Regions from separate parts of the Homo sapiens genome. Here all the other regions are linked to region 2. Evidence: promoter capture Hi-C in 16 types of primary human blood cells and fetal thymus (Javierre and others, 2016). All regions are on one chromosome and are shown on one strand. Each heading gives the region's core, a stretch centred on a gene start or on the middle of the fragment in contact. The rest is flanking DNA. Distances are from core to core; before and after follow the strand shown. Region 1 overlaps TMEM87B (transmembrane protein 87B). Region 2 holds the start of MERTK (MER proto-oncogene, tyrosine kinase). Region 3 overlaps TMEM87B (transmembrane protein 87B).

Region 1 (2,700 bases), core at 36-2,535, 190 kb before region 2:
GCCTTTCAGGAAGTATTTTAAAAGGGAAACATCCCATAGAAGAAAAGTTCAAATTGGGCCTTTTTCACAAGTTTCTATCTAAAAATTCATCTCAGGAGATACAAAGTAAAACCACATTTCACAGCAATAACAAAAAGGGGTGGTAGAATAATGTAGTTTTTACCCCAATGACTCTCATCACGCCTTCAACAGCTGCAAAGATTAAGTATAGAAGCCCCAGTCCGATCACCCGGTGCATGACTGTTCCTAAACGAGGCCTGGAATCAGGAAGAGGAAACAGAGAAAGAAGAAAAAGCATGGGTGAGTAAAATGCACCTGAATACAGTAACTGGCACCATTTCCAATACCAGGAAGTCACTATCTAATCACATCAGTCTGTTCCCGGCTCTGAGGTACTTTGTTTTAGGAAACAGGCCCAGGAACAAAGGGTCTCTTTCTCTAGGACCTGAAGCTATACTGATGCCTTTGAAGCAATATTTGGAGGCCACAAAGGTGCCAGAGGATTTTGCTGCTGAAATTCAAGCAACAGAATGAATATAATTCAGGTACTGTTTCTATAGAATGGAAGAGTAGGTTGATGAAATCTAGGAAGGTAAATGCCAACTTCTAAGTGCCACTGAGAAGTCTAACTTAATTCTTCCTGAGGTCTGTCTTTTCAGAGATAATTCACTTGTCTCATGACTTGGGCAGAGGAAGAGCAGGACATGAGGAGATGGAAGTCCATGACCTCCTTTCTGATCACCAGCTCTTAACCAGAACAGGAGTGCTAACAGAATTTCATTTTCATTCTTTAAACTGAAAGAGTTAAAATAACATTTTTGGGCGAGGCGCAGTGGCTCATGCCTGTAATCCTAGCATCTTGGGAGGCCAAGGTACGCACATTACTTGAGCTCAGGAGTTCGAGACCAAACTGGCCAACGTGGTGAAACCCGGTCTCTACCAAAAAAAGCAAACAATTAGCCGGGGGTGGTGGCTCGTGCCTGTAGTGCCAGCTACTTGGGAGGTTGAGGCACGAGAATCGCTTGAACTTAGGAGGCAGAGGTTGCAGTGAGCCAAGATCGCACCACTGCACTCTAGCCTGAGCGAGAGTGAGACTTTTGTCTCCAAAAAAACAAAAACAACAAAAAAAATTTTTTTTGGCTCTTTCAAAATATAATTGAGTTGGGAAAATACAAAGATGGTGGTTTTTGCAATTAATAATTTAAAATAGAATAATTTCATGATATTTGCAAATCAGAATTTATTGCACATACATTTAAGGCTGCTCAAAAACCCTCCTCTCAGAGTAATTAGAAGAAAAAAACTGGTTTAAAAAAATATTTAAGATAGTCAATTCAAAACAAAATATAAGTAAAAAATTAAGTTAGTGGTCATAGCTCATATTTAATTAAGACTATTTACCTAATCTAAGGAATCTAAATTCTGATTCATTATAATCAACTAACCAGAACCTCCAAATAACCAGAACTGTTACTGCTCTCACTTTATGAGTTGAGCCGAGCAAGCTAACAGTGAAGGGATTCATTTAAAAAGGGTTTGTATCTGTACCCATTCATTTAATCTTCTATTCCTTTCACAGTAACAACACTGCACCTGTTGGTATCTGATGTTCATAACCAGAGCTGTGAAAGGTACTGCAAGATTCCTCAACAAGAGGCCTTCATTTCCTACACTGTACTAAGAACACAAAAGGCATTTGAGAAAGAATCTCCAATAAAAGTCCAGGGGGATAAAGGCTTCCAGGATAAAATCCTGCTAACTCCCCAATCCCCAGCTCACAAGCAAACGGGCACGCACACAGGAGGAGAGCCTAGGGGTGCGAGTCACAGAGCAGAGGCCTGAGCCTGGGCCCCCGGGGGCCGGAGCTCAGGAACACAGGAGGGTGCAGCAGAGGAGGCTGGGGAGGAGTAGCCAGTGATGTGAGAGGATGGAAGACGAGCTCCCAGAAACCAGGCAAAGCTGGCACTCCTTAAAGCTGCTCACGGGACAACTGGACGAGGGCTGAGCAGGGCCATGTGATATGGCAGGTGAGGTCATGGTGGCCTTGACAAGAGCAGTCTCAATAGAGCAATACTGGGGAGGCTGAGGTACAGACTACTCATGTGAGAAGTTATGCTGCACAGGGGAAAGGTGAATGAGGCAGAAGTGGAGGAGAGGGCCATGTGGGGTGGAGGGAGGGCTTCACTTTAAAAAATGGTAGAAATAACGAGATGCTGATGGGGGTGACCCACCAGAGAGGAAAGCTGACGATGCAAGAAAAAACAAAACCGAGCACTAGGACAGTTTCCCTCACAGTTGAGTGGGCACAAAGGCAGGGGTGGCCCGTGACTATCAAGAAGAGGAAAGTGGTTCATGCGGTCCAGATGTGGGGGAAATGACAGGGTCTGGGGGCACAGATGCAGTGGAATTCCCCTCTGATGGCTTCTACTTCCTCAGTGAAAAAAAAACCGAAGGTCAGGGTAGAGTCTGAGAGAAAGGGGTAAAATGGTCTTCTGCAGACAGGAGAGTGAGAAAATAGTGGCAAGGGGATTGAGTACAACTGCCAGCAGCACTGAGGGTGCACGTGAAGTTTAGGGTCATGAATGGCAAGTAGGCCCCCTCAGTGTGGTCCAGGGCTCTTTTTGGGCAAATTCCCCTGCTCGGGTGGGAGCCTGAGGCAGAAGGAAAGCTGGACTTAGCAAGGCTGGGGTTTTGTCAAGA
Region 2 (2,744 bases), core at 245-2,744:
TGCATTCTCGATCAAAAGAGAGAAAATCTACATGCTGAATGGAAATAGAAACCTTTTAGCTGAGAGAAAATACTTGGAATGTGTTTATTTAGCATTTTTCCCCTTTCTTTTTCTTTTGGGTAAAGCCTGGTAAGTTTATTCCAGCCTCCTCAAGAAGTGCATCAGCGATCAAACTTGAAATCTGTTCATCACTCACTCCCCAAATAAGCTGTTCAAGCAGAATGAAACCGGCCTTCCTTGCCTCCACGTATCAGTCCAGCATCTTGTATTAAAATGCCTGGAACAAGCCGGGCGCGGTGGCTCACGACTGTAATCCCAGAACTTTGGGAGGCCAAGGAGAGCAGATCACGAGGTCAAGAGATCGAGACCATCCTGGCCAACATGGTGAAACCCCGTCTCTACTAAAAATACAAAAATTAGCCGGACGTGGTAGCGCGCGTCTATAGTCTCAGCTACTCGGGAGGCTGAGGCAGGAGAATCGCTTGAACCCGGGAGGCGGAGCCTGCAGTGAGCCGAGATCGCGCCGCGGCACTCCAGCCTGGGCGACAGGGCGAGACTCGGTCTCAAATTAAAAAAAAAAAAGCCTGTAACAACACTTCGCTGAATCCAGATAAACGTAAACGCTGCCGAGCACTGTAAGTTCTGTTCTGCCATAACAGGAGTGAAAAGAACGCTCCCCTTTTCCCACACTCTCTGGGTGCCCCTAAAAAGGGATACTAATAATGCCCGTAAGGGCCCATTGGGAGCAGCCAGGACTGCCGTCCCCCCCTGGCCCGTCGCTCGGCCTCAGTCTATCGCGGCTCCCGGACTGCGGCTCCGACTCCCGCAGCCCGTTCGTTCGCCCCGCGCCGGTCCCTCGGGAGACCGGATCTGTGGCCCCCGGGACTCCGGCCAGAGCGGGGCCCCACCATGCAACTCTAGTGGAAAGTTCTCGTCGCATCCCAGACCAGACCTGCTACCTACGTTCCACTCGTCGGAACTTCAGGACTTGCAGCGCGCCCGGCCGAGCTCGATTTCCTCCTCTGCGGTGAAGAGGGGAGCCTGCAACGCCGACCCCGACCCGGCTTCACCACGATGCGCACCCGCAAGCCAGGCTGGGTGCCCTCGGGACGCTTGAGGCGCCGCGGTCAGTGGACGGTAGGTTCGCCTACGCCCCCTCCTCTGGCACCGCAGTGGGTGGAGGGTGTTTGCAAACTTGTCCAGCAGCCAGGCGCGCCCCTGTGGACGCGCTCCCTCCCCAGAGGCCCCTGCTTCCTCCTGGGAGCCCCCACCCCCTCGCCTGGCCCCCAGCCGGGCGCACTCACCTCTACGCCAGAGCGCGGGGAGGAAGAGGCCCAGCAGCAGCGGCAGCGGGGCCGGCCCCATCCCGGGGCTGCGGATCTGTAATTTCTCTCCGGACGGATGGACAGATGGACGTCCCGAACCTGTCCTGTCGCCGGCCAAGCGCGCCAGCGAAGCTCCCTGTCCGGGCGGCCCGGGCAGTGAGTGCCGAGTGGCGGAGCCAAGCGGCCGGCGGGAGGTGCCGAGGGCTGGAAGGGGCGGGCCGGGGGCCGAGCCGAGGCCGGCCGGGGCTGGAGGAGAGGAGCGGGCAGGGGGGCGAGTCCCGGCGGGCCCAGCAGGTTGGGGTGGGAGGGGGCGGGAGGACGAGGGGGAGGAGGGGCGTAAAGGGGAAAGGGAGGGGGTTGGAGAGAAGGGGCGGGCCGAAGGCCGCCGCTGGGCAGACGGCGGGGAAGGGGGCGGAGAGGAAGGGGAGGGGGCTGAGAGACCCGGAGGGAGCCGGAAAGAGAAGTGAAGGGGAGGGGTGGACTGGAGGTCCACAGCGGAAGGCTCTGGCCGCTGCGCGGGTCCGGGGCCCCACACGTGTGGGTGGGAGATGGGGAAGGACAGAAGGTGGGAGAGGAGTAGAGGATGCCCGAGGCAGCCCCCAGACCCAAGAGGAGGGTCCAGAGGCGCCCCCGCATTCCGGGCTTGGCTGACACAGAAAACCCTGGCCGCGCCGCTCCCAGAGGCCAAGGCCAGGGCGGCAGCGCTCCCTGCCGAGCGCTCCTCCACATCCATTCCGCTCGCCGCCGAGCGCCGCCTGGGTACCCGGCCCGAGGTGCGCGACACGGCCCTGGCGGCGAGGAGCTCACCTCCCCAGGGGGAGGGGTTCCTGGGAAAGGACGCTTTGCCGTGGCTCCGTGACGAGCCAGAGAGAGGTGACACTCAAGGAGGGAGATGAACGTGAATGACAAAGTGCAGAGCAGGAGTGGGGAGAGGGGGAACCACAGCACGTCACTCTCATGGGCCTCCACAAGGTGTGCAGGGTCCAAGAGGCAGTAGCAGAGAGTGAGTCGTAAGAGAAATGTAACTACTTACGCTAATAATGGCAACAGTAACTTAATTTATATACGTAGTTTCTTAAAGGTAACACTTTTAGAATGAATGTATTTTAATGTGGTCCCTTTAACAACATAACATAAGCCAAATCATGTCCCTCTCCTCAAATCTCCCTAAACCTATCAGTGGTTCCTGCTGTCTCTGCGTACGTAAGCCAAGGTTCTGCAGTGGTCTACGAGGTTCTACGTGACCTGGTCCCCTTTCCTCTTTGGCCTCATCTCCTTACGCCTCTTCAATTTACGTTGGTCTCGTCAAGCGGTCCCTTGACCCCTACACTGGCTGGACACTTCCCGTAGATTTGGCTACGGGAAGGAGACAGGCAGCCCAGATGGGTTTAGACAGGTTATTACTTACACCGACAGCAA
Region 3 (2,932 bases), core at 399-2,898, 210 kb before region 2:
CCATCCATCTATCCTTTCTATCCATCCCTCCAGTCTATGTTATCCATCTTGTTTATTTATCCATCTGTCTAATCTATTAGAGAATCTGCCAAATCTAACAGATAAAAAATGTCTTCACATATTATCTATCGTGTCAGAACTTATATATGCATACATAAATTTTTACATAGTATTAATCACAGCACATATAGTTATAAGGAAAGTATAAAACTATATGATAGACATTTCCATTTTACATTGTTGTCTTCAAAAACATTTTTATGCATAAATAACATGCAGAAAATATTTTTTAGCTCATCTCTGCCCAATGTTTTACAATTTTATTCAAGCTTCCCACCTCAAAAAAAAAAAAAATCTGTTAATTTTGGTAACCGTGTAGGTAACACATAAAGTTCTTTACCAACAGATAACAAATGTTATTTTAAAATGGCTTCAAAAATCACTTTCATAGGCTGAAAAGTTAACACAAGCTTTTATTGGAACAAAGCTTTCCCATCTCGAATGTGCAGATGAACAGGCTATGGAATCTTTTCAAAAAGCAGATTCCAATTCAGGAGCGTCCGGGGTAGGCCTGAGACTCTGCATCTCTAACAAGTTCCCAGATGATGCTCATGCTGCTGGCCTAGGAACAGCAGGTGAGAAGTGAGATCTACAATGAAGGTATTTCAGTTATGGACAACCAGGATTGCTACTTGGCACTTGGCAACACTAATTTTTATAACAACAACAACAAAATCTTAGTAAAAACTGTTCTTCTGAGAGTCAATGAATATGACACTCGTATAGCTCTCTAAAGTAGTGAAGACTAAGGAAGACTAAGATTGTACTAAATATATACCATACTCACAAAGTTCTCAGAAGTGGCAGGCTTAGCTGTTCCATTGGAAACTGATTTTGAGGCTCTTAATTTTATTCCTTCGGCTACGAGAGACATTATAAACATATATATAAAATCACAAAATAATATTTTCCTTTAGAAATTTAATAATCTGATAAGAAAAAATACTATATCTTTTTAGAAATGGAGGGTTAATAATGGAAACTTTAGGCAGGATGCTGGATTTACCATTTGGGAATGTAGGAAAAATATATGAAAAAAGTTCACAGATTTTTGGAAACTATTTGTCAGAACCACCAGGTTTTCAAGTTTCTTGTTTGAATCCTAGTTTTAGAGTTTAAACAAGTATACATGCATACATATTTCCTTAATTGCAATTATTTTAAAGTTTATGGATTTAAAAATCTTCAGGATTCATGGTACATTCAAGAACAAAACACATCTTTGGGTATGCTTTACATCCCTGATGTACAAATTTTGAAATGTGCGTATGGCATAAAGAAGATAGGAAAGATCAAGATTTCTTTCATATTTGACCAAGGCTCTTCTGCATGTTTGCAGTTTCAGTGGAGCAAAGGCTAAGTGTCTGCCTCACTGGAATCTTGGGCAAGGCAATTAACTTCCTGTGACTTAGTGTTTCTGACTATAAACTGGGGATAATAATAATTTCTACCTCATAGAGTTCTAGTGACCATTGAACAAGTTAGCACATATAAAATGCCTGACACACAATCTATGCCCAGTAAGTAGTCACTTTTGTTATTACACTAATTTGCAAATATTGCTTCTCCATAAACTAGAACAATTATAACATAAGCTGATGTAATAAATAAAAATGAGGTTCCTCAATCCAAAAATGTTTTCCTGGGACATTCAAAACCCCAACATTTCTCTTAGAAGGGGAATACAGTGATTTTTGAACACTGAAGCGTGTGTGTGTGTATATATATATATATTACAAATTTTAAGTGTACAGTCTGAAGAAACCTGACAAATATATACACTTGAGTAACTGCCATGCCAATCAATACAGTTAACATTTCCATTATCACAGAAGGTTCTTTAAGTTCCTTTCTGGTCAATCCCCACCTCACCAAAAGCAACCACTGCTCTGATTTAGATAATCATCTAAATCATGCAACACTTTCATGCAAGATAAACATTTTTGAGATTAAGTTATGTTATAGAGTGTTGGTTACTTTTTATTACTGAAAAGTATTCCATTGTATGGATATATGGCAATTTATTTATCTTTTCACCTGTTTGTAGATAATTGTGTTACTTCCAGTTTTGGACTATTAAGAATAAAGCTGCTGTAAACATTCTTGTGTTTCTGTAGACATCTGCTTCATTTTTCTGGGTAAACCTTAGAGTGGAACAGTTGAACTGTATGGTAGGTATATGCTTAACTTTGTAAGAAGCTGTCACATTGCTTTCTAAAGCGGTCATGCTATTCTACATTCCTTCAAGTACTGTATGAGAGAGCCAGCTGTTCCACATCCTCTCCAATAGTTCATGCTATCTATCAGACTTTTTAATTTTAACCATTCTAGCAGATGTGTGGTGGCAGCTCATTATGGTCTTAATTTGCATTTCCCTGATGACTGATTATATTGAGCACCTTTTAACGGGTTTATTGGCCATTCCTATGTCTTCTTTGAAGTGTCTACACTAGTCTTCTGCTCATTTTTTGCAACATAGGTTATCATTTATTGATTTACAGGAATTCTACTTATATTCTGGATATAAGCCCTTTGTCAGATATATATGTACTGAGAATATTTTATCTCCCACTGTAGCTAGCCTTCTTATTTTCTTAAATTCTTCCTGATGAGCATAGATTTTAAATTTTGATAAAGTCTCATTTTTTAATTTAATGGTTACTGTTTTTCATGTCCTAAGAAATTACCCCATCCAACGTCATTAAAATATTTTCCTTTTTTCTTCTAGAAGAATAACAGTTGAAGCTTTTCCATTAGGTCTGTGATCCATCTTGAATTGATTGTGAGATGTGCAACAAAAGTCTAATGATTTTTTTTCCTACACATTTATCCAGTTGTTCCAGTACCATTTATTAAAAAGACTATCCTCTCT

Evidence for each region. Contacts are between HindIII fragments. The CHiCAGO score rates a contact against its expected background, and 5 or more counts as called.
Region 1: a fragment that was not itself captured here is called in contact with the fragment with the promoter of MERTK in region 2 in 1 of 17 cell types (M2 macrophages); the score reaches 5.2 in M2 macrophages.
Region 3: a fragment that was not itself captured here is called in contact with the fragment with the promoter of MERTK in region 2 in 2 of 17 cell types (endothelial precursors and megakaryocytes); the score reaches 7.5 in endothelial precursors.

What each region holds. Positions count from the first base shown.
Region 1 is chr2:112,087,182-112,089,881 of GRCh38, reverse strand. TMEM87B (transmembrane protein 87B) reads right to left here. Exons shown (of 19, transcript NM_032824.3): 10 at 164-257. Among named protein-coding and RNA genes, the nearest start is that of TMEM87B, 33 kb to the right of the region's middle. RefSeq lists an enhancer at 2,422-2,511. The HindIII fragment of the contact is 4,356 bases long and covers 1-2,700 here.
Region 2 is chr2:111,897,357-111,900,100 of GRCh38, reverse strand. It overlaps MERTK (MER proto-oncogene, tyrosine kinase), which reads right to left and starts at 1,494. Exons shown (of 19, transcript NM_006343.3): 1 at 1,305-1,494. The coding sequence starts at 1,365. RefSeq lists an enhancer at 2,026-2,355. The HindIII fragment of the contact is 4,607 bases long and covers 1-2,744 here.
Region 3 is chr2:112,103,991-112,106,922 of GRCh38, reverse strand. It overlaps TMEM87B (transmembrane protein 87B), which reads right to left. Exons shown (of 19, transcript NM_032824.3): 16 at 848-921. Among named protein-coding and RNA genes, the nearest start is that of FBLN7, 33 kb to the left of the region's middle. The HindIII fragment of the contact is 2,318 bases long and covers 490-2,807 here.